Linked DNA regions of Homo sapiens: all the other regions are linked to region 2. The links are contacts of gene promoters, found by promoter capture Hi-C in blood cells and fetal thymus (Javierre and others, 2016). All regions are on one chromosome and are shown on one strand. Each heading gives the region's core, a stretch centred on a gene start or on the middle of the fragment in contact. The rest is flanking DNA. Distances are from core to core; before and after follow the strand shown.

Evidence for each region. Contacts are between HindIII fragments. The CHiCAGO score rates a contact against its expected background, and 5 or more counts as called.
Region 1: a fragment that was not itself captured here is called in contact with the fragment with the promoter of AHDC1 in region 2 in 2 of 17 cell types (naive B cells and total B cells); the score reaches 5.2 in naive B cells.
Region 3: a contact is called between a fragment that was not itself captured here and the fragment with the promoter of AHDC1 in region 2, in 1 of 17 cell types (total CD4 T cells). The highest score is 5.1, in total CD4 T cells.
Region 4: a contact is called between the fragment with the promoter of WDTC1 here and the fragment with the promoter of AHDC1 in region 2, in 7 of 17 cell types (erythroblasts, non-activated CD4 T cells, fetal thymus and 4 more). The highest score is 6.0, in erythroblasts.
Region 5: the fragment with the promoter of SYTL1 here is called in contact with the fragment with the promoter of AHDC1 in region 2 in 16 of 17 cell types (endothelial precursors, naive CD4 T cells, naive B cells and 13 more); the score reaches 14.8 in endothelial precursors.
Region 6: a contact is called between a fragment that was not itself captured here and the fragment with the promoter of AHDC1 in region 2, in 7 of 17 cell types (naive B cells, M1 macrophages, M0 macrophages and 4 more). The highest score is 7.7, in naive B cells.

Annotation. Positions count from the first base shown.
Region 1 is chr1:27,282,638-27,285,872 of GRCh38, reverse strand. It overlaps WDTC1 (WD and tetratricopeptide repeats 1), which reads right to left. Exons shown (of 16, transcript NM_001276252.2): 5 at 2,424-2,535. Among named protein-coding and RNA genes, the nearest start is that of TMEM222, 38 kb to the left of the region's middle. RefSeq lists a silencer at 1,009-1,088. The HindIII fragment of the contact is 7,577 bases long and covers 1-3,235 here.
Region 2 is chr1:27,602,718-27,606,227 of GRCh38, reverse strand. It overlaps AHDC1 (AT-hook DNA binding motif containing 1), which reads left to right and starts at 2,084. Exons shown (of 9, transcript NM_001371928.1): 1 at 2,084-2,122; 2 at 2,365-2,500; 3 at 2,734-2,831. RefSeq lists silencers at 1,740-2,279, 2,830-2,909 and an enhancer at 3,393-3,442. The HindIII fragment of the contact is 3,248 bases long and covers 1,066-3,510 here.
Region 3 is chr1:27,135,386-27,139,040 of GRCh38, reverse strand. All of the region lies in intron 1 of SLC9A1 (solute carrier family 9 member A1), which reads left to right. Among named protein-coding and RNA genes, the nearest start is that of SLC9A1, 18 kb to the left of the region's middle. RefSeq lists enhancers at 720-1,531, 3,128-3,197. The HindIII fragment of the contact is 1,147 bases long and covers 1,077-2,223 here.
Region 4 is chr1:27,232,750-27,236,414 of GRCh38, reverse strand. It overlaps WDTC1 (WD and tetratricopeptide repeats 1), which reads right to left and starts at 1,783. Exons shown (of 16, transcript NM_001276252.2): 1 at 1,464-1,783. WDTC1-DT (WDTC1 divergent transcript) reads left to right here and starts at 1,986. Exons shown (of 3, transcript XR_947117.2): 1 at 1,986-2,153; 2 at 2,813-2,970. RefSeq lists silencers at 1,104-1,153, 1,314-1,363, 1,554-1,703, 1,904-1,963. The HindIII fragment of the contact is 2,806 bases long and covers 519-3,324 here.
Region 5 is chr1:27,339,609-27,343,271 of GRCh38, reverse strand. It overlaps SYTL1 (synaptotagmin like 1), which reads right to left and starts at 1,250. Exons shown (of 15, transcript NM_001193308.2): 1 at 1,122-1,250. RefSeq lists enhancers at 1-615, 790-839, 1,370-1,629. The HindIII fragment of the contact is 10,600 bases long and covers 1-2,004 here.
Region 6 is chr1:27,305,476-27,309,161 of GRCh38, reverse strand. It overlaps WDTC1 (WD and tetratricopeptide repeats 1), which reads right to left. Exons shown (of 16, transcript NM_001276252.2): 16 at 526-2,976. The coding sequence ends at 2,779. Among named protein-coding and RNA genes, the nearest start is that of TMEM222, 15 kb to the left of the region's middle. RefSeq lists enhancers at 330-854, 855-1,380, 1,381-1,906. The HindIII fragment of the contact is 299 bases long and covers 1,461-1,759 here.

The sequences.
Region 1 (3,235 bases), core at 332-2,831, 320 kb after region 2:
CTCGCACCTGTAATCCCAGCACTTTGGGAGGCGGAGGCAGGTGGATCACCTGAGGTCGGGAATTCAAGATCAGCCTTACCAACATGGAGAAACCCTGTCTCTACTAAAAATACAAAAAATTAGCCGGGTGTGGTGGTGTATGCCTGTAGTCCCAGCTACTCGGGAGGCTGAGGCAGCGGTGAGCCGAGATCTTGCCACTGTACTCCAGCCTGGGCAACAAGAGCGAGACTCTGTCTCAAAAAAAAAAAAAGAAAAGAAACAAGAAAGAAAGTATGTAGTTCTATCACATAACTTTGAGGATAAAAAATATTTGGGAGTGGTGTTGAATTCTCGTGTGAGTTCAAAAAATTGAAATATCTTTTTTTTAAAATTGAAAAGTTCCTCCCTACCCACAACAAGGCTGAGTGGTAGTGTTGGGGGAGGGGCAATGTCCTACACTGAAACAGCTGATGTCCCACTTGACTTTAAATGTTCACAAAGAACAACAATTCACTCTTTCCACATAGGCTTCTCTAAGGGCCATTAGAACAAGGTCTAGCCAGGCACTGTGGCTCATGCCTGTAATCCCAACACTTTGGGAGGCTTAGGTGGGTGGATAACCTGAGGTCAGGAGTTCGAAACTGGCCTGGCCAACATGGTGAAACCCTATCTCTACTAAAAATACAAAAATCTGCCAGGTGTGGTGGTGCACACCTGTAATCCCAGCTACTTAGGAGGCTGAGGCACAAGAATCGCTTGAACCCAGAGGCGGAGGTTGCAGTGAGCCAAGATTGTGCCAACTGCACTCCAGCCTGGGCGACATTCAGAGTAAGACTCACCCTCAAAAAAAAAAAAAAAAAAAAAAGACCAAGGTCTAGATGAAATAGACATGATTTAATTATTTTAGGGACAACCAGTAGTCTTTAATCCTGTCTAGAGACGGCATACACTCAATGCACAGCAGAAATAAACTGGGGAGCCCTTGTCATGATCTTGTGGCTGCTGCCACACGCATCACACACCATAGTCACCACCAGGGGGAGCGCATGAGTTAAATACATATACATCTGCAGTGTTTCCACTACCTAAAGAAAGAAGAATCCTTTTCAGGTTGTTTTTTTTTTTTTAAATAGAAGAGGAGGCTGACAGTCTGCATGTAAGTGCCGTTCCCAAGGTCTTACCGTTAGGGAGTATCAAGACCATTATGAAATTCTGGTGTTAGAAATCAATGTCTTGTGCTCTGATGCTAAACTAATGGCTTAGGTCCCCTTCCCCAGGCCTGACTGTGCAGACTAAAATTGGACCTAAACTCTTTGCAGGGGAAGAAAGCAGTTTCCGTTAGTCATATAAGAGGTAAATCATCATTGTTCTGTCTCTAAAGGCGAGAATCATAGCTTGAGAAGAAAAAAGGGTTTAGGAAAACAAGTAGGTTTGGAGCTATCATCTTGTTCAGGTATCTTGTAATTCCTCTTGATATTAATTACGAAAATATTTCTTAGAATAGTGAGGGTTTCCGAAGGACAACTTCATTCTCACATCTATCCATTATAGAATCTCAGAGCTGGAAAGGCCCTTCCTTGCAGGCCATTTCTTCCAACTTTAAATCTTGGAGATAAAGCACCTGGCGAGTGGACAAGTGCAGGGATAGGACATTTACTCATCTCCTCCAGGGGCCCATTCTACATTTTTCAAAGAGCTCTAAGCATTAGACAGTTCTTTCTTTCCTCAGGCCCACATTTAATTCTGTGGACTTACAGCCACTAGTCCTAGGTCTGTTTTCCACAACAAAAAAACATGTCTCATGTCATTTCCAGGGCTTCAACAGAGCTTCAAAGGTCTGAAGACACTTGTAAGTCCCCTTCTCACCTCTCCTCCGCTCAACTCCCCTCCTCCAACAAATCAAAATATTCATTTCCTATGAAGGGGTAGAACAGATAAAAAGCACTGGGCACAGACTTTATTTTTATCAATTATCTCATTGAACTGTCACATCAACCTTGTAGACTGTTATTTCCTTTTAAAAAAATTAATTTGTTTACAAATCTGGGAGATTTTCCTTCGCTGCTTCCTTTTTTACAGATGAGCAAACAGGCTCAGACAGGTCAGGTGATTTGCCCAGGTCACACAATGCCCAAGAAGCAGATAAGGGAGTCAAACCCAGGTATGCCTGCTCTCTAAGTTCACGTTCAGAACCATACCCCCACCACTACCATTCACATAAAGATAAATTCATCTAGAATTGGCCGCTTAGCTCTAAAAGAGGAAGAAGAACATGGAAGAGAAATGAGGTTTCAGGAATCACCAACAGATACTTAGATCATAAGGTTGTCTGTGACCCTAGACGGTATATGGGACACACACATACCAACATGGCGTGGCCACAGCCCAGTCACTCTTGTGCTTGATCTGTGGCTTGTGCTTGCTCTGTGGCTTGTCCTGCTCACCTTGACAGAGAAGATATTTGCGGTGTGTCCCGTGTGCATGGAGAGCAGCTTCTTGTGGTGCAGCGGGTCCCACACAATCGTGTGCTGGTCATCGGAACCAGAGGCCAGCAAGCTGAAAGCAGAGTGAGGGATTGTGATCTCTCCTCAAATTCCTAGGCTCCCTTTCCCCATCCCATGTTCTCAGTTTACAAGGAGTTAGGTTACAGAATTTGAAGAACAGTAAATGTCACAGAATTTAAGGTTGCCTTGTAAACAGCTGATTCTCTTCTATTTTGTCCTGAGAAATTTCCATTATTCTTTTTTTTTTTTTTGAAATGGAGTCTCGCTCTGTCCCCCAGGCTGGAAGTGCAGTGGCGCGATCTCGGCTCACTGCAAGCTCCGCCTCCCAGGTTCACGCCATTCTCCTGCCTCAGCCTCCTGAGTAGCTGGGACTACAGGCGCCCGCCACCACACCCGGCTAATTTTTTGTTTTTTTGTAGAGACGGGGTTTCACTGTGTTAGGCAGGATGGTCTCAATCTCCTGACCTCGTGATCCACCCGCCTCGGCCTCCCAAAGTGCTAGGATTACAGGCGTGAGCCACTACGCCCGGCCAAGAAATTTCTATCATTCTTAAACACATTGGCTTATTAAAAAAACAGGGTTTTGGGCCGGGCGCGGTAGTTCATGCCTGTAATCCTAGCACTTTGGGAGGCTGAGGCAGGTGGATTGCCTGAGCTCAGGAGTTTGAGACCAGCCTGGGCAACATGGCAAAACCTCGTCTCTACTAAAAATACAAAAAATTAGCCAGGCATGGTGGCGCATGCCTGTAGTC
Region 2 (3,510 bases), core at 835-3,334:
TCCCCCTCCCATGCTTTTCCCAAACTCCCCTTCATCTCAACCTACTGGGGCTCTCCACACCCCAGAAACCATCCTATATTATCCCACCCAACTCCCTCCTAAAACTTGATTCAAACTGAGTAGAGTCTTCATGACTACAGGCAGAATCTAATGGGTAATGGGGGAAGGGAGAGAAAGGAGGAGGAACCTGGGTCTCTTTCACCCTCCCCAACGCCGAAGTCTGTCTGTCCTATAGGGGGCCAGCTAGGGCAAGGTGCCAAAGCCTCATCTATTTGGGATCACTTCAGGCCCAGGCTTTGGAGCTGCAGAATCTCTAATGACTTTAGCCACTACTTTTATGAGCATCTGACCTTATATTTCCCATTCAATGAATAAATCTTTGAACCCAAGTCCTAACTTGTCTGCAAGGAGAAGCTGCTCCAAGATGAGGGCCTCTCCAGTCGGTCATGGCAGCCCCATGATGCCAAATCAATAGTGTCCCGTTTAGAGCCCTAGACCTCTCCTATTACTGCTGCACACACCCTCTGCCAAGGGCCAATAGAGAGTGTTCCCCAGATCCCCTCTCTTGTCCTCTGGGGGTACTGGACTGCCATAGAGAAGGAGCTTGGAAGGAGTGAAGGTGTGGGGAAGATAGTGACCAGGGAGTTGCGGTTGGCAAAATGTCACCAGCTGCCTTTGTCACACACTGGCCAACACCCTGCAAGGCCAAAGGAAGAGTCAGAAACAGGTAGGCCAGAGACAAAGGCACTGCTCTAGGAACTTCAGACCTGGAGCAAGATAGACAAGGCCAGCAGACACAGGGTGTGGAACATCAGACACACAGATGAGGTGGTCCAGTGAGGTGGGACCGCCGCAGGGCCAGTCAGGGCCGGCGTTGGTAGACACCTAGGACACAGGACACGACAGCCACTATGCATTATTCATCTCCGTGTCCCTTGCAAGCCCTGCATACCTCAGTTAACATTTGTTGAAGTGCCAAGAAAGGACACACAGACACAGGGAGAGAAGGTCAGTTACAGAAATGGAGGGAGTCACAACTCCTTGTCATAGCCCAGGGGTTAAGCTTGTGGGGTTTGGAGTTAGTCAGACCCTGGTTCAAATCCAGCTGGGTTCAGCCACTTGCTAACTGGAGAACCTGGACCTCAGTGCCCCCATCTCTAAAATGGAAATAACAGCACTATTTTACCGCAGCAGTTCAGCCATCTCCGGGGGCGGTAACAAGGCCCCCAAGCAGCGCACATTCCCATCTGTGGGATAGGCTAGGCAGGGGCTGGAGAACACATGTGACCTGAAGAGGAGGTAGGTGAAAGTGCTGAGCCCAGCCCCCGGCCGCGGCAGGAGGTCAGCACCGTTCAATCTGAATCCTGCTTCCTGACACAACGCAAATGCTCAGCAGAATTCGGAAAAGGGTGTGTGTGTTCTATCTGCGGATTATCCAGGACTTTTGAGCCCTCGCCGCCCTTGGACATATAGGAAAGCTGGGAGTTGCAAGGGCGAAACCGAGGTCGGAGTTTGAGAGGAGGGGTCACTGAGTGAGGAAGCAGCGCTGGCTGGGTCTCCCCCGCTCCCCCGCCCCAGCAGCCCTCCCGCCATATATACTTGAGCTTTACTCAATAAGAAACCTTTTCAGAAAAGGATAACGTCCCCAGATTGAGAGAGCCGGTCCTCTCCTCTGCCCTCTCCCCCTCCCATTTAATTGGGACGCCCCAGAAAGTCGCAGCCCCTTTGGCTAATCCCCTGGTTCCCTATTCCACTCCCATTCCACTCTCAGACCCCGCCCCTTCACTCCCACCCGCAACCTCCGCTCGATCCAGAGCCCCCCGGTGGAGACAAGGAACACAGGGACCATTCTTAACCCTTGGGGAGGATCTTCGCCCGTTGGTAAACGAGGACGCGCTCCAGCCAGACGAGCCCCAGGCGCGGGGTCCCCGGGGCTCCTGGCCGCGCCGTCGGAGCAGCCGGCGCGGCCCCGCCCTCCCCGCGCGCGGAGCGGCCGGGGCGGGGACTACAAGTCCCGGCGTGCCGCGCGCGCGCTCCCCCCTGGGGTTCCGGATGGTGAGCGGCGAAGGTAAGGCGAGCTCGCAGAGGCAGCGGCGGCGGCGGCGGAGACGGAGAGAGGCAGGCAGGCAGGGCGAGGGCGAGAGACGGAGGGAGGGAGCGAGCGAGGCGGACCAGACAGACAGACAGGCGGGCGGGCGGGCAGAGCGAGCCACCCGCCAGGCTGCGCTCAGCCCCGCTCGCAGCGGAGAGAGCAGAAGGCAGGAGGAGGGAGGGGAGGAGGGGGAGGGAGGGAGAGAGGGAATCCAGCTACCACCACCCAAAGCCAGCGTCTGCTTTCTGTCCTCATTTCCTTTTCCCACCCAGCTTGGAGAGCAGAGAAAGGCAGAGAGAGCGAGAAATAGAGACAGTCTGAGAGACAGACAGACAGCCAGAGAGAGCGGGAGGGAGGAGGGCGGAGGAGGAGGAGCAGGAGGACTACGCGGGGCGCGTTCCCTCCCAGGTTTGCTATTGGGGGGGGTGGGGGCGGGGGTGTCCAGGGCTGGGAGAGTGTGTGCGCGGCGGGAGGGCGAGGGGGGCGCAGAGAGAGCGAAGGAGTGATCGAGGTGGGGGGGCGCCGCGGGAGCGGGGGGCCGTGTCCAGCGGAGTTAGCGGCGGAGAATGTGAGCCGAGGCGCGAGCCATGCTGTCAGCGACGGCGGGCGGCTCAGGGCTCCTCCACGACTCCTCTCCTCAGCAGCCGGGCGCCCGCGTCGCTGCCACCGCCGGAAGACAGACGTCCCCCAAAACCCCTCGCCTGGCTCGGACCCACGGAGCCGGCAGCCCAGCACTCCGGTGAGTGGCGCCTCCTCCCCAGCCCCAGACCCCCGCTGGGGACCGGCCGGCCAGGCTCTTTTGTGCAGCGCACGGGGGGGGCCTGCGTCCCCCGGTCCGGTCCGCTGGACCCGGTGGCTGCGGTGCCCGCGGTGCGATCGGTCTTTGTTTCCACCGGGGCCCGCGGCTCGGCTGGGCTCGGCTCGAAGCCTGGCAGGCAGCGCCGGGAAGGGGGAGGGGGAGGTGGACGGGGAGGGGGGGCGGGGAGGGGGGGTTCTCGGGTTTCCTGGCCGCCCCGCGGCTCCCCCGGCTCGGGGGCGAGGTGCGCGCCCAGCGCTGCCGCGCGCCCCCTCCTCCTTCCCCCTCCCTCCGCCTTTGGATTTAAAACTGCAATTTGCTCTCCAGCTTGCTGAGAATGTGGGGGGGGGGGGAATGAAGGGGGGACCGTGGGAGCGGAGAACAAGGCTGGATTTTAGGATCGGCGCTGGGAAAAGGGGAGACTGCGGAGGGAGGAGCCCCTCCCCTCCAACCCCCAAATCCCTAGGATCCACTGGCTCTCGGGGAGTTGAGGGGCGGGGACCTAATGACCCGGAGGGGGTGTGGGGCGGAGGAGGGATTTGGGGGCGGCTAGGGCTGGAGGGGTTGGGCCGCGTGCCCGGTTACCTGGCGAACAAAGTCGGCTCACTTTTGCATAAATAAA
Region 3 (3,655 bases), core at 401-2,900, 470 kb after region 2:
CCTCAGACTGGTGGCAAACACAACCACACCTGTCAAAGGCTTGCCTCTTCACTCCATCTTCTCCAACCCGGGTGATTCCCGGGCCTCCTGAATGGTCTTGCGGCTCCACTGCTGTCTGCCTGCAGGCAGCTCTCCCCAGAGCAGCCGCAGGGAGCTTTGAGACCTGTAAACCAGAGCATGGTGTTTCCCCTGCTGAAAACCTTTCAAATGCTTCCTGATGAACTTGGGAGAAAATGCAAGGAAAGTGTGGCCCACCCCTTTCTCCACTTCATGCCCCACTACCCTTTCCCTGTTCCAGTCGCACCGGCCTTCCTGTGTCCCTAACGCACATCTGCCTTGCCAGGCCTGTTCCTCCATACAGCTGTGGCATTTGCTCGATCCCCAGCCTGGAGCACTGCCCATAGACTGCCTCGCGCCGGTGCTCTCCTTCAGGCCCTAGATCAAACGTCATCTCTTCAGAGAGGCCTCCCTGACTGTCCAGTCTAACGGGCAGCACACGCCCCACCAGCTGCCTCTACCCCCATGTCAGACACTATTCTGGATCTGAGGACACAGCCAGGAACAAGACAGAAGAGGCTCCTGATGTCAGGGGGCTCCCATGCCAGCATGGAGCATTGGATGTGGACAAAGCAGTGTCAGGTAGTGGTAAGTGTCCTGAAGAAGGCAGACATGAGGGAGAGGTGGGGCTGCTGGATGGCCAGCAAGGGTTCTCTAAGGAGCTGGTGTCTGAGCTGAGACCCAAAGGACAAGAAGAGCTCATCTTCCAAAGACCAGGGCCCCTGAGGGGGGTGTGCTTGAGGAACCTGAAGTGCGGGGGAAGAGGGGAAGCATGGTGTGAGAATGGAGAAGAGGGCAGGGGCCAGATCATGCCAGGCCCGTGGGCCTGGGGCTAGGATTCATGGTGCTGTGTGGCACCATCAAAGGCTCTTGAGTAGCATGACATGGTCTGACCTGGGGAGGGATGTGCGGACAGCCTGGGAGTGCGATAGAGTCGGCTCAGGCCCTGGGCTGGCCCCACTCAGTGTCCTGCCTGCCAGCAGCTCAAGCTGGGTCTATGAGGGCAACAGAGTAAAGCTTCCCGACAGGCACCACTGGCCAAGCCAGCAGTGGGATGGAAGCTCCAGCCTAGGAGAGCTGCTAGCAGGGAGGGGCGAGCAGGACGCTGGAGCAGAGTGGGCGTGGAGTCAGGGGCACATTGGGGAGGGAGGGGCTGAGTGGGCACCAGGCTCTGCTGGACTCCTGCTGGCCACCCCTCCCTTGCTGAGCCTCAGCGCCTGCAGGCAAACAGTCACCAGACCTGTCATGTGGGAGGCGTGGCATTGCTGAACACCAGGGTTGGACATGCGTGTTCCCTGCTGAACCCTATGGTCGTGGCCTGGGGAGTTGTCAGGTCAGGAAAGGGCAGACCTAGAATCAGAACCAGACTTTAGCACTGGGAGGGATCCTAGAGACTGCAGAAGTCCAGGAGGAGAAGATAAGGGGTTAGGGAATCAAAAGACCAGGACTGAAACCCCCCTCCCCCACTTGCAACTTTGTGGTCCCCATGTGCAAAGGTGTGGAGGTTAAATGAGAATGCTGAGGCGAGCACCTAGCAGTAAGGGCTTCTAAATGTCTGACATGATGACAGAGCCCGGCCCATCCCCCTCAGCTCACAGAGGAAGCAGAGGCCAGGGCGGAAGTGACTTGCTTAAGGGCCACAGAGCTGCATTGAGCTCAGCTCCCCGACCTCTAGTCCAGGCTCTCCTGTGATGCTATAAGTGGTCCTTCTTCCCACATCGTTCCCTCCGCAGAGGTGAGGCGGCCTCCTGCCTGTCCCACTTTCTTTTCAGCCTGCCTCTGAGCACCTACCATGCAGCAGACACAGTTGCGTGGTTGGTGGTTCCCACCCTGGAAGCGCTGGCACTGACACTTGTGTGTGGGAGACAGACATGTAAACAACTAAAACACAAGGCAGGCTGAAGTGCCGCAGGGACACAGCACGTTGCAGGTGGGCCCTGGGGGCAGATGGGGCTCCATCTGGCACTACCACTTACAATGGAATGGCAACGAGGCCCAAACCTAAGTTAGAACAGATCAAGAGGGCCTTGGATTCAATGCAGAGAAGTGTGGGCTCTTTCCTGAAGATGGGGGAACTGCAGAGGTTCTGGAGGAGCCATGACCATGACTGGCCTGTGTTTAGGATGAGGGCTCTCCTGGCTGATGGAGAAGGGACTAGATGAAGCTTTTCCCCCAGTGTTCTTGGCTCTGGGAATTTTCCGCCTCCTCCTTCCATGGATAATTATCCTTCCTAAGAAACTGATCAGATGGGAAACTGCAGGAAATTGTTTGGGACGGGGATTGTGTAGGAGTTGAGGGGAGAGTGGAGAGGATGTAGCCGGAGAGGGGTATCCGTGCCAAGCAGCAGGTGGTGGCTCCCTTCAGAGGGGAGGGAGGGAAGCCTGGGCAGGGCTGGGAATTTAGAGCAGGAAGATGCAGGTGCTTCTGGGGGAGCTGAGTCCCTCAAAACTCCTGGTCTTATCCTCGGTTGAGGAGAGGGGTTAGGGTGACTGGCAGGGTCTGACTTTTCTGGGTCAACAAGAGCTGGGGAAAGTGTGAGGCAGTGTGGCCCAGTGGGCGGGGCCAAGCCCAGGCCCAGCTCTGCTTGGAAATTCCCTTATTGTGGGCCAGGGCTAGTTAGGAGTGGTGAGTGTGCACTGGGCATCCTCCCTTGGCACAGAGCAGTCCTCCTCCTGCCCCCTGCTCCCAGCAGACCCAGAGCTTGAGTCGTGGACCTGGCTGCTGTCCCCTTGCTAGTTAAGCAGCAGTTCTCCATGAGCTGAGGCTTCTGGAGAGCCAGGCTTCCCTTAGTGACTGAACCACAGGGATGTGTGCTTAGCGCTGAGGATAAGGGGGTCCCCACATCTGAAGCCAGGAGCGAGACTGCCTCTAGAGGGGCCCAGAAGGCTCTGCAGGTGGAGATTCAAGGCATCCTTCTGGGCAGTCAGGGGCCAATAGAGACTGCAGAGTCCAACAGACCTGTCTGAATCCCAGCTCTACTACCTGCCTGCTATATGCCTGTAGGCTGATTATCTGACCTGTGTCATTTTTCTGCAGATAATTCTGGGGTAACCACAGTTCTGACTTGGATCATCATCAGTTGATCTTACCTGTTCTTGAACTTCATCTGAATGGAATCATAGGTACTCTTGTGTGTCTGGCTGCTTTTGCTCAGCCTATCTGTGAGATTCCTCTTCACTGTCACATGTACCAGAGGTTTGTTCATTTTATTGCTGTTCGGTGTTGCCTCGTATGAATACACCACAGTTGGCTCACTCTCCTGTTGATGGGCTTTTGGATTGGTTCCCTTTTTTTGACAATTGTGAATAAAGCTGCTCTGAGCATTCTTGTACTCCGTAGGGTTTTGTGAGAATTAAATGAAATAATCTGTGACAGTAAAGTGTTTAGTACTGAATTTTGACTCAGAGAGCAGGTGCTCAGAACATTTTCCCTCCAGATTTTTTTTTTTTTTTTTTTTTCCAGAAAAAAGGAAGAAATAAAAAAAAAAATCAAACACTGCTTAAGTATATAAAGAAGAAAAATGCAAGTTATACCCCTTTTACTCCCTTGCTTCTCGGGCCGAGCACTCTGAATAGTTCATCCTGGGCTTTTCTCTACA
Region 4 (3,665 bases), core at 534-3,033, 370 kb after region 2:
GGAAAGGAGAGCAGGACTCCAGCCTTAAAGCAGCATGATCACAAACTATGACGGAAAAGGTCATTTCCCACCTGCCAACGAAATACAACAACCTACAATGAAGAAACCTCAGTAAGTCTCAGACTTGGCCCAAAGGAGCCCAACTAGTTACTCCCTGGTCTGTTACAGAGGATCTGGCTATTACACTCAACAGCAAAAATTCAATTCAATCCCGCTAAAGATATAAGAATCACAAGGAAGAATAAGCCAGAACTCAAGACAGAAATAGCATTAAGTAGTTCCTTCAGTACAGTGAGCAGAAGCTGGCCACTCAACGACTCTAAAAGACACAGAAAAGCTTAGTAGGGACCACTGGGCATACCGGTGTCCTAGGTGGGGATTTCGTAACGTCTTTGAGTCAGAAGCTGCCCTCAAAATAGTTTCTTCTCAAAACGGTTTCAGGCTTTGTTAGAAAGGGAAGACTTCACTGCCACTTTACCCAGATCATCTACCCCATCCTTGGAATGAATGGGGAAGCTTCAGCCACCCTACCAGGCTCCTAAAATCACCAACTTGAGAGAAAAACTATAACGTTGCTCTACCAGTACTTCAGGAGGTTAAAGAAAGTCACAGAAGAAAAGAACTCTGGGGAAAACAGTCAAATTCGGCTATTAAGACATTAGTTACAGGCCCCTGTACCTCTCCTCTAGAAACCCTGGGAGTACACCCGCAGAGGAGAGAGAGCCCAAGCCACCAAGCAAAGTCAACCAATCTGGCAAAGGGGCGTCCCACTGCGGCTTTCAGTCCAAGAAGTGGATCCTGCTGGTTCGCAGTCTCTCTTCTATCTCCTCACTTCCTATTTACCCTTTGAAGTGGGTACTGAATAGCCCGTTCCCAAGCAGAGGCCCTTTGTATACGGGGTGCTACAGTCGCCTGGTGGAAACACCTTGGCAGAGTTGTTTGGTGCCAGGATGGGCCACTGAAGGCATCTGCTGTGGACACACACACACACACACACACACACACACACACACACACACAGAAAGAGAGAGAGAAAAACAGAAAGAGAGAGAGCGAGAAGCTAAGAGGGCAGGTCAGGTCGGCGTTGCCCTCCCAGCACTTACACCTGCCCCTTCTTCCTGACTCCGGCGCCAGATCAGATGTCAAACAAAAACTCCGCAAAAAAGTCCCATGATGGAATGACTTCCACCTCTCCCTCCGCAGAGCCTCCCCGGACTCCCACAGCCTCCCCCCGCGTCCCGACCAAACCCTCCGCCCCCACCCCGCCCCCGGACCACTCTGCCCTCCGCCCCGGCGAGGCCTGGCCCCTCTCGGGACACCCGGGGCCCCGAGGCGGGTAGGCTCAGGCCCCCAGGCCGGCAGGGCTGGAGCCGGCCCAGAGCGGGCGGCCCGTTCACCGGGGCTGCGGGAGCCGGTCCCCGCCTCGGCGCCCGCGGAGGGCAGGGGGCGGCGGTGACCCGTACCTGTCAGGTCTCTTCCCCCGACCGGCAGCGGCGCAACTTCAGGAGCCCATGTCCGTCCGGGGGGGGCGGCCCCTCTCCCGGGAAGGGGGGCGCGGATCCCGGGGAGGGGGCTGGGGGGCTCGAGCAGTTCTAGCCCCTTCCCATGCTCCCCGCCCGGCGCCTGGCCGGGGCCGGACAGCGCCTCCGCCCGCCCCTGCGCACCGCCTCACACCCGCGCTCACACACACTCACACTCCCTCGCGCGCTCTCACACACGCACTCCCCTCCCTCCTCCTCCTCTGTTTATCTCCTCCAGCTGTCTGGGGACCCAGGAGAAGCCCAGCAACGCGCCTGCGCCACGCAGTCTCCGCCTCCGCCCTGCGCCTCGCAGCCGGCGGGTACGCTACGAAGACTGCGCCCGGCCGCTTCCAGAATGGCTAGCCGGGCCCCCCCACTTACCCCCCCGCGCCCGGTCAACGTCTGCTGCCGGCGGCGCCCACTAACCTGCTAGTGGGGGAGCCCCGCACCGCCGTGGCCAATGGGCTTCGCCGCTTGCGGGACCGGCAGCCAGTGGGCGGGCGGGAAAGCTGGGCTAAGCCCTGGGGCACCCTGGGAGTCGTAGTTTTTCGCCGTCGAGGAGTTCCTGCAGAGCGGGCTCACCCCGCCCGGTTGCCATTAGTTACCCGGACGCACCTCCCACCCCACCACCGGGTAAAACGCTCCTCACACCGCTTCTGGGACACCCGCCCACACGCTCGCCCACTGAACCCCAGGTCCCCTCACAGCCCCTTAAGAGCTCCTAAGACTTCCTCTCAGCCCCCGAATTCTGGGACCTCTCAGGCTAGGGCCCCGGGGGGCTCCTCAGCCCACTCCTTCCTGCTCTGGGGGGCTGCTGAAGTGGCACAGTCCTCACTGACGTCTCCTGGGCCTTAAGGAAGAGAATGAAAGAGAATCGGGCCTACGCTGAGTAGCCTGGAGAGGAGTCAGCCACACACACTCTGGGTGCCCTCGGGGTGATGGGAGCGACTAGGTCCATCTGACCCTAGCGGAGTCACTGCTGCTCCCACCTCTGAGGAAGAGACGCAGTTCCAGCCTTGTGGAGTCCCGGGTCTGATGGAGGAGAGACCCTCCTCTTTATTAAGGAAGTTCCCAAGGTGACAAGGGTGGCACTAAGCCTATCTTCTTAAGGCAGAGACCAGGCCCCACCCGTGAAACCTCAAGTCAGAAAGGGAAGACGTGTCACCTTCTGACAAAGGAAACTTGTCACCCATAGGGTGCCATTTGTCAGATACTAACAATAATTCACTTTTATTCGCACTGGATTGGGTACAGTCTCTTAGCTAGGTACTATTGCTGTCTGTGTTTTGCAGAAAAGGAAAGCTGAAGCAGAAAGGCTAAAAGCAACTTGCCCCCGGGGTCCTGATAAGTTGGCAAATTGGGAATTAGACCCAGATCTGCCTGACACCAGAGTCTGAGCCTTTTAACACTGCCTGTCTTTCCTGTGAAAACCAGACAGCACCCGCTCTCAGTAAGGACTGAATATATGTATTTGGCATTTATAGTGTTTATCACTCCATGTGTCGCTTGTTTTTTTTTTTTTTTTTTTTTTTTTTTTCCAATTCTGCTCACATCATGAGTACGAATTTGTCTGTGAATACCTGAATACTCCCAGAGACAAAGGTAGTATTCTAATTGCTGGTGATTTCTCCGCAAGGGAGATTTCTCCCCATTTAGAGGAGTAAGAACCTATCCTTGTGAAACCGCTCACAAAGCCTTTTATGCCTTTCTCCTAAAAATATTGTGGGTCATTCCCCCTGAACTCTCCACCACAGCTGTTCTACTGAATATAAAAAATCATAGACTTTGGGACTAGAAGAAAGCTTTGAGATCATCTATCTGCAGCTCCCCAGGTTCAGGCTGCAACCTTGGTTAGGGTCATTGGGTTAATTAAACTGAATAATATCTAACATTTATTGAATACTTACCATGGGAGATAAGTGCTACTAGTGAATTAAGAAATACTCCCGGGCTGGGCGCGGTGGCTCACGCCTGTAATCCCAGCACTTTGGGAGGCAGAGGCGGGCGGATCACGAGATCAGGAGATAGAGACCACCTGGCTAACACGGTGAAACCCCATCTCTACTAAAAATACAAAAAAATTAGCCGGGCGTGATGGTGGGCGCCTGTAGAACCAGCTACTCGGGAGGCTGAGGCAGGAGAATG
Region 5 (3,663 bases), core at 1-2,500, 260 kb after region 2:
ACAGTGACTCCGGAAAGAAAGCATTTGCCCAGCGCTGAGGGGCATGTAGACGTGGCAAGGGGCCCATGACTTGGTCAGGGCTGTGTCCTGAGCCCACTGGGCGGCCTCTCCTCTCTTCCCCGCCCCTTCCATTGCCACGGCTCCAGGTGGGGCTGAGACCGGCGGAGGCAGCTTGGCGGGCAGGTCCTGGCTTGTGTCCGCCGCCTGCTATGCTCTGTCCCCTCCCAGCTGAGTCAGTGGCCGAGCCCCAGCGATCCCTCTTGACACCCTCAGGAGCAGAAGGCCTCAGCACGGCTGCACGGTGTGCATTCACTCTGTGGATACCTGTGTGCTCCACAACAGCAGTTTCCCTGGACTTCTGTGGCCAACGTGTGAGCCCACGTTCGGCCTCCCCTGTGGATTGGGGTGTGAGCCCACGTTCGGCCTCCCCTGTGGATTGGGGTGTGAGCCCACGTCCCTCTCTGTGCCCTGTTGTGTGGCTGTGTGGGTCCGAGTCTGGTGGGCATGTCTGCGTTGCGTGAGTCTGTGAGCTGTGTAGTTGCTGTGTGTCTTTGTGTCCTGTTGCAGTGTGATGCTGCATGGTGACTATATTGTCTGTGTGGTGTGTTCAGTGACTTTCTAGGTGACAGCGCCGTGTGGGGTGTGTACAGTATGCATTGTGCATTTCCTCCTGTGCTGTATGTGTGACTGGGCTGTGTGCTGTGGGGTGTCCCCTGGTGCCTTGGGGGCCACCAGGTGTGTGTGTCTGAGTGTGGATGGAGGCCGGGGGGACGTTCGGCAGAACTGAGCCTATTTCTGTCCTTCAGGCCTGCCTGAGCTGGGCCATGGGCATCAGCCCAGCGTCCTCAGCAGTGCCCCCTCCCTGAAGTCCCCTCTCCTACCAACCAGAGGCAGAATCTCCTACCAGAGTTAGGTAGGAGTTTGGTCTTCTCTGCTGTTTTGACACGGTGGGACAGACCCATTGGTCAAGAGGAGGGTCTGTCCATCTGTCCAGCTGTTCCAGTTCCAGACATGTGCCCACCTCCCCCAACCCCAAGGTGCTGGAGGGTGCTCAGGATACCAGGTGGCAGTGCCTGCGTCTCTGGACCCTGGCAGGGGACCCTGGCACCGACACGTGTTACCTGTAGGGGTCCAGTATGGGAGGACACCTTCGCAGGTGGCTCCAGCTCCCCTGGCAGCCGAGTTTCAGGGACCGGGAGAAGAGCCGTGAGGGAAGAAGGCTGACTCAACAGGCAGCCCAGCCAGCAGCTGCCCCACACGGAGGAGGAGGAAACACCTCGGCAGGGCCTGATGCAAAACCGGGCCTGGACTCCCAGCGCCCGGGGGTGCGCCCCCGCAGCCGACTGGAGAGGCCCAGCTTGGCCCCAGCTCCACTGAGCAGGCCCTCTAGAACGGGTAGCAGCCCCACCTTGCCCACAACGGGGCTGATAGGAACTCGCTTTGAAAGCAAGTTAGAAACCTTTCTTTTCCAGCCCCAAGGGGAATGGCAGGATGGCAGACTTTGCAGTTAGACCACCCTGTGCAGAGTCCCTGCTCTGCCAGTGGGTGTGTGATGTGACCTTAAGCAGGTCTCTTCCATTTCTTCTGATGCAAACTGTGGGTAGCAGAGTGCAAGGAGCCTATACTAAGGGAAGTGAAAGTGCCCGGTGCGAGCTGGCATAGTCGGGGTGAGGTGTCCCCACTCCAGCATAGCCTAATGCCCACGGCCATCTCAGCAGCTGCTGCCCTCTATATCCACATGCACTTCTGGGACATGCTGGCAGAGCAGCCCTCTCTGTCCCCTCTGCTGTCCTGAGCCCCATCTGTTTGAGGAGGCCTGAACTCTTCTAGTGCCAAGGTGAGGGTCCCACACCCTCTGTCTATGTGGAGCCCCCCTGAACTCACCCCATTCTACACCTAGATTCTGCCCACCCTGAGATTAGAAGGTTTGGGCCCTAGATTACATTGGCTTCAGGACCATGAACCTCCTGGGTTGTCTTGGGCACAAGAGGCCACACCAAAGCTTTCTGACTCCCCCCAAGTCCACTTCACTTCCCATGGCCTGCCCTGGCCCAACCCCCTCCCCTGAACCTAGGGCCATGGATTAAAGATTAGTGGGCTCCTCATAGACCCCTGGGAGAGGCAGGACAAGGGGTGGATTCTAAACAAAACCAGTCTGGGCACAGTGACTCATGCCTGTAATCCCAGTACTTTAAGAGGTCGAGGTGGGCGGATCACTCTAGGACAGGAGTTTGAGACCAGTCTGGCTAATATAGTGAAACCCCGTCTCTACTCAAAATACAAAAATTAACCGGGCATGGTGGCAGGTGCTTGCAGTCCCAGTTACTCGGGAGGCCGAGGCAGGAGAATCGCTTGAACCCAGGAGGCGGAGGTTGCAGTGAGCCGAGATCGCACCACTGCACTCCAGCCTGGGCAACACAGCGAGACTCCGTCTCAGAAAAGCAAACAAGGCTGGGCGTGGTAGCTTACACCTGTAATCCCAGCACTTTGGGAGGCCGAGACGGGTGGATCACGAGGTCAGGAGATCAAGACCATCCTGGCTAACACGGTGAAAACCCATCTCTACTAAAAATACAAAAAAAATTAGCTGGGCGTGGTGGCGGCTGCCTGTAGTCCCAGCTATTTCCCGAGTAGCTGAGGCAGGAGAATGGCATGAACCTGGGAGGTGGAGCTTGCAGTGAGCCGAGATCGCACCACTGCACTCCAGCCTGGGCGACAGAGCGAGACTCCGTCACAAAAAAAAAAAGAAAAGAAAAGAAAAGAAAACTAAACACCCACTCTTCCTTCCTGTAATCAGAACCGACTCCCACCACCACTGAGAGACAGAGGACCCTCCTCCACCTCAGAACCACAGTGGAGGCTTCCCTACTTATTTTTTGCAAATTAATCTTATTTTTCTCATCTGTTAAATGGGGGTAATCTCTCCTTAGAGGGTTTTCACTAAAATTCAGTGAGATCCTTGCAGACTTTTTTTTTTCTTTTTTTTAGATGGAGTCTTGCTCTGTCGCCCAGGCTGGCTTGGCTCACTGCAGCCTCCGCCTCCTGGGTTCAAGTGATTCTCATGCCTCAGCCTCCCGAGTAGCTGGCACTACAGGCGCCCGCCACCACGCCTGGCTAATTTTTGTATTTTGAGTAGAGATGGGGTTTCACCATGTTGGACAGGCTGGGCTCGAACTCCTGGTCTCATGTGATCTGCCTGCCTCAGCCTCCCAAAGTGCTAGGACTACAGGCGTGAGCCACCTTGCCCAGACCCCAGTACTCTTGATTAATGCATTTATGCACCCACACATGCAATACCCATGGAGCAGCTGCTGTGGGACCATTACTGTGATGCTGCCTCCTTCATTAAGGCCCTCAAAATGGAAGGAGAGTGGCCAAGAACATCCACACCCCTTCCTGCCATCCTGGTCCTGGCGCCCCCAAGGATGTTTCTCTGCCCTCCTCTCACCTCCTTAGCAGCTCTTCCTCCTGGAAGGCATGAAACTTCATTATCTGGTCTTCGGGTTTCTAAATTTCCCTTCCTTTCTCTGCTCTCCTGTCCTTCCTATAGCTGTGACTCCCTGACGCTGATACTTCCAGCCATCTCTCCTGCTGTGTCTCAACCTGCATTCCTCTGGCCTCTTCCCCACTTGAAACCTATTTCCAAGTTTCCACCTCTGTAAC
Region 6 (3,686 bases), core at 361-2,860, 300 kb after region 2:
TAAAAAATAAATAAAAATGCAAAAAAAAAAAAATAGCTGGGCATGGTGGCACATGCCTGTAATCCCAGCTACTTGGGAGGCTGAGGTAGGAGAATCACTTGAACCCGGGAGGCGGTGGTTGCAGTGAGCTGAGATCATGCCACTGCACTCCAGCCTGGGCAACAGAGCAAGACTCCGTCTCAAAAAAAAAAAAAAAAAAAAAGAATGAAATAAATATTGTTTCTTCCAATTCAGGTGTATTATTTTTTAAATGGCAACTAACTTGTTAGGACATAAATACTTTTTAAGTGATTTGGACTTAACTACTTAATAAATTGAACTGTTATTTCTTTTGGCTTAGAGGCTCCATGAAAAAATTACTGAGATGGTAATGGTGCTGTGAGCTAAGAAAGTTCAGGAACCTATAGTCTAAGAGATTATCTAATCCAGGGCACTTCAAAAACTTGCATATGTGAAATCAATTTAGTGGGTTATAGCCATATTTTTTTCCCTAATAAAACAGAAGGGTAAGCAGAGTACACTGCATGTAGCAAGGGTAAATATTATTGTGTAAAACTTTTGTTCATTTTTTTTATATATATATACACACACACATATCTACAAGTAATCATGTGTATATTGGGTCACAATGTAAAATGGTTTGAAAAACCACTAAGATTCCAAGTCCCTTATTTTACTGATGAGAAAACAGCCAGAGAGTGAAAGCTGATGATTACAAATCACAGCCATGAGAGCTGGGCTCTGCACTCAGCCCTGCTGGGCTGGGTGGCCGCTGCTCACGGTGACCCTTCAAGGCAGGCCTCATTCTGTCCAGTAGAGGTGTGGTTACTAAGTCATAGAGCTACAGAGGTGAGGGACCAGGTGCCCTCACTTTGGTTCCAAGACCCATCTGCACCCCACAAATGCCACCAGCCACACCTAGAACAAAATGGTTTTAATCAATTGCGTCACCCTCACTCTCCTGGGAGCGGAGCAACAAAAAGGCTCGGCTCCTGCCCCCAGAGGACAGTAAGGCTTATGTGTCTCTCCACACTGCAGGGCCCAGGCTGGGCAGGCAGGGGGTGGGAAGCAGGACAGGGGGCAGGGAGGGAGGGTGGGAGGCAGGGAGGAAATGGCAGGTGGCTGGAACACAAGAAAGCAAAGGGGACCCAGCTGGTCCTTGGGCCCCAGGGCCCAGCCCCAATACTCCTGCTCTCCCTTCTCCCTGGCTAGAGAAAGGTCACGGAGAAGAGACAGGGGAGCAGGTCCCAGCAGCAGGAGAAGCAGCAGCAGCTGTTTCCTTCACCAATAAATATACTTCATTACCAAGCTAGAAGAGAGGGGTGGGAAGAGGGACTGGGGTGGGAAGGAAGGGGGAGAAGCTGCCACCTGTGTTGCTGGGATTAAAGCAATGAGATGGTGCCAGACCCCCCACCACTATCCTCACCCTCCACTTGTCTTCTTAAAACTGTGAAAAAGCTTTTAACATGGCCCTCCTGTCTCCAGGGCTGCTCTGAAGCCTGACTGAGAGGAGGCACCTGGCAGAGACAGGGGCTGAGGGAGGGAGCGAGGGAGTGGAGGGAGAGGAGAAGGGAGGCTGCTTTTCCCCAGGGGCTGCAGCTGGAGGGCTGGAGCCAAGTAAGCACTGAAGGGGAAGCAGGGAGGGAGAGAGGGGGAAGGATGAACCAACTACCTGGAGCAGCTGGAGCTAAGAGCCGGGGGCAGAGGGGAGGAGAGGCCTGGTGAGTGGTGGGTTGATCGCTGCATCCAGTGTAAAGCTTGGGGCTGCTGGGGAGGGAGGGGCCGAGTAAGGGACTTTCCCATCTGAGTGGCTCAGGAGACCCACCCCTCTCCCCTCAGAGCAGCAGGGGACAGAGAAAAGCCATCACTTCTTTGGTCTTTGTGGCGGCTCAGCATGTGGGATGGGAAGGAGGGCAGAAAGGGCAGAGAAGGGCCCTTAGCAGGAAGCGCCACCTCAGCAGAGTAGGCCTGGCTGGGAGCTCTGGCAGAAAGGTCACAGTGAGGCTGAGGAGCGCCCAAGAGGAGAATGGCCGTAGTGCAGAAGTGCTGGCATGGATGGGTGGGGTAAGGTGCAGTGCCCCACCCTCTGCCAGGGCCCTTGGGAAAGGCAGAGCCTCCAGAGGTGGCCAGTGAGAGTAGGTGCAGGGCCAGAGCTAGTAGCCAGGAGAGGAGCGAGGGTGCTCCACAGCGACCTCAGCAGGTGGCCTGGTCTTGCCCACTCCAGGGCTCCCATCCTTCCTTTGGGCTCCGCTCTAACACTGGTGGCTCTGGAGGGAGGGTGGGACCCATCCTTTTTCAAAACCTTTCCTGAAGACCACAGGGGAGCTAGCCTTGCAGGCTAGGGAGCAAGAGTGGCAACAGGCCAAGGCGAGCCCTTACCAATTGGGAATCCCACTCCTCCTGCTGCTGCCAGCTAAAGGGCAGGACAGTCCCTGAAGACAGTTCAGCTTGTTCCTCCCCACCTGAGGCAGAAGGGGTTTTGAGGCAGGCCAGAGCCCTCCAGGGACATGAAAGCAGGAGATGGGGGGGGGCATATGGAGGGGTGTCCCCTCCTGCTCTTTTTTTCAGGGCTGGGGATAGTCAGGGGACAATCAGCCCAGAGTCCGAAAGCCAGCAAGTTGTAGCAACCTCCACCCCTAACGCCAAACTAACAAACAAAACAGGGGAAATGAAAAAAAAGGGTGGTGGGGAAGACAAACCAAAACAGAATCCCCTGACCTCCTGCCCAGGGCAGAGGGTCCAGCCAGTAGCAGGGGCTGGGGACCAGGGCTGGAGGGTCTAGCTGGGCCGGCACTGCACCTGGCCCTCAGAGCTGTCCTCATCATCAGAGGCCCCGGCACCCCCACTGCTCAGGCCCGTGATCCGGTAGCCCATGTTGAGCAGCATCACCTCCAACGGGTCTGCATTCATGCGCCGCTGGTTGGCCTGTGAAGCACCCTCCATATCTTCCACGACTCGGCCTGTGAGGTCTTCACTCTGTGGTGGAGAAAGGGGTGACACACGTGGGGCTCAGGGAGGGAGAGGCACCAGGGTACACGTATAGGGGAGGGGGAGGGAAATACACAGACTAAACTATCTATAGGGGGAGGTACACATACATGCCAGGAGGTGTATATGGTGGAGGGGAACACACAACCTTGGCTACATATTGTTGGGGGTGCTCACGCTGGAATATATATGGGAGATACGCCACCTCAGGATATACAGGCAGGTCATAACATGCTGGGATATACGTGGGGGACAGTACACACCAGGATATGTTGGACACACATACTGGGATACCTGGGACAAGGGGCAGATACAACTTCCCCACCCCATTCTGTTTTGTTGCCACAACTCTTGCTTCATCTTTCTTTCTCCTCTCCTCTCAATGGGGAAGCCTATAGGGGTCCTCTCTTTAAAAGTCACAGCAAATTATCTTGGGAATCAGACATACCACTTGACTTTTGTTTTGCCAGCTGGGAAGAGGGAAGCAGTAGGGCAGAGGGGAAGGGGAGGCACCAAGCCAGCTTCCCTGGCTACCCACCCTGGGAGTGGAGGGGACTCCACTGTCCTAAGTGTCCTTGTGGGCTGGACACTTCACAGGCATCTCTTCTTTACTTCTCACCACAACCTTTCAAGGTGGTGCTGTCATTCCCATTCCCAATGTACAGATGATTAAAAGCCTGGGTCAGAGATGGTGAAGT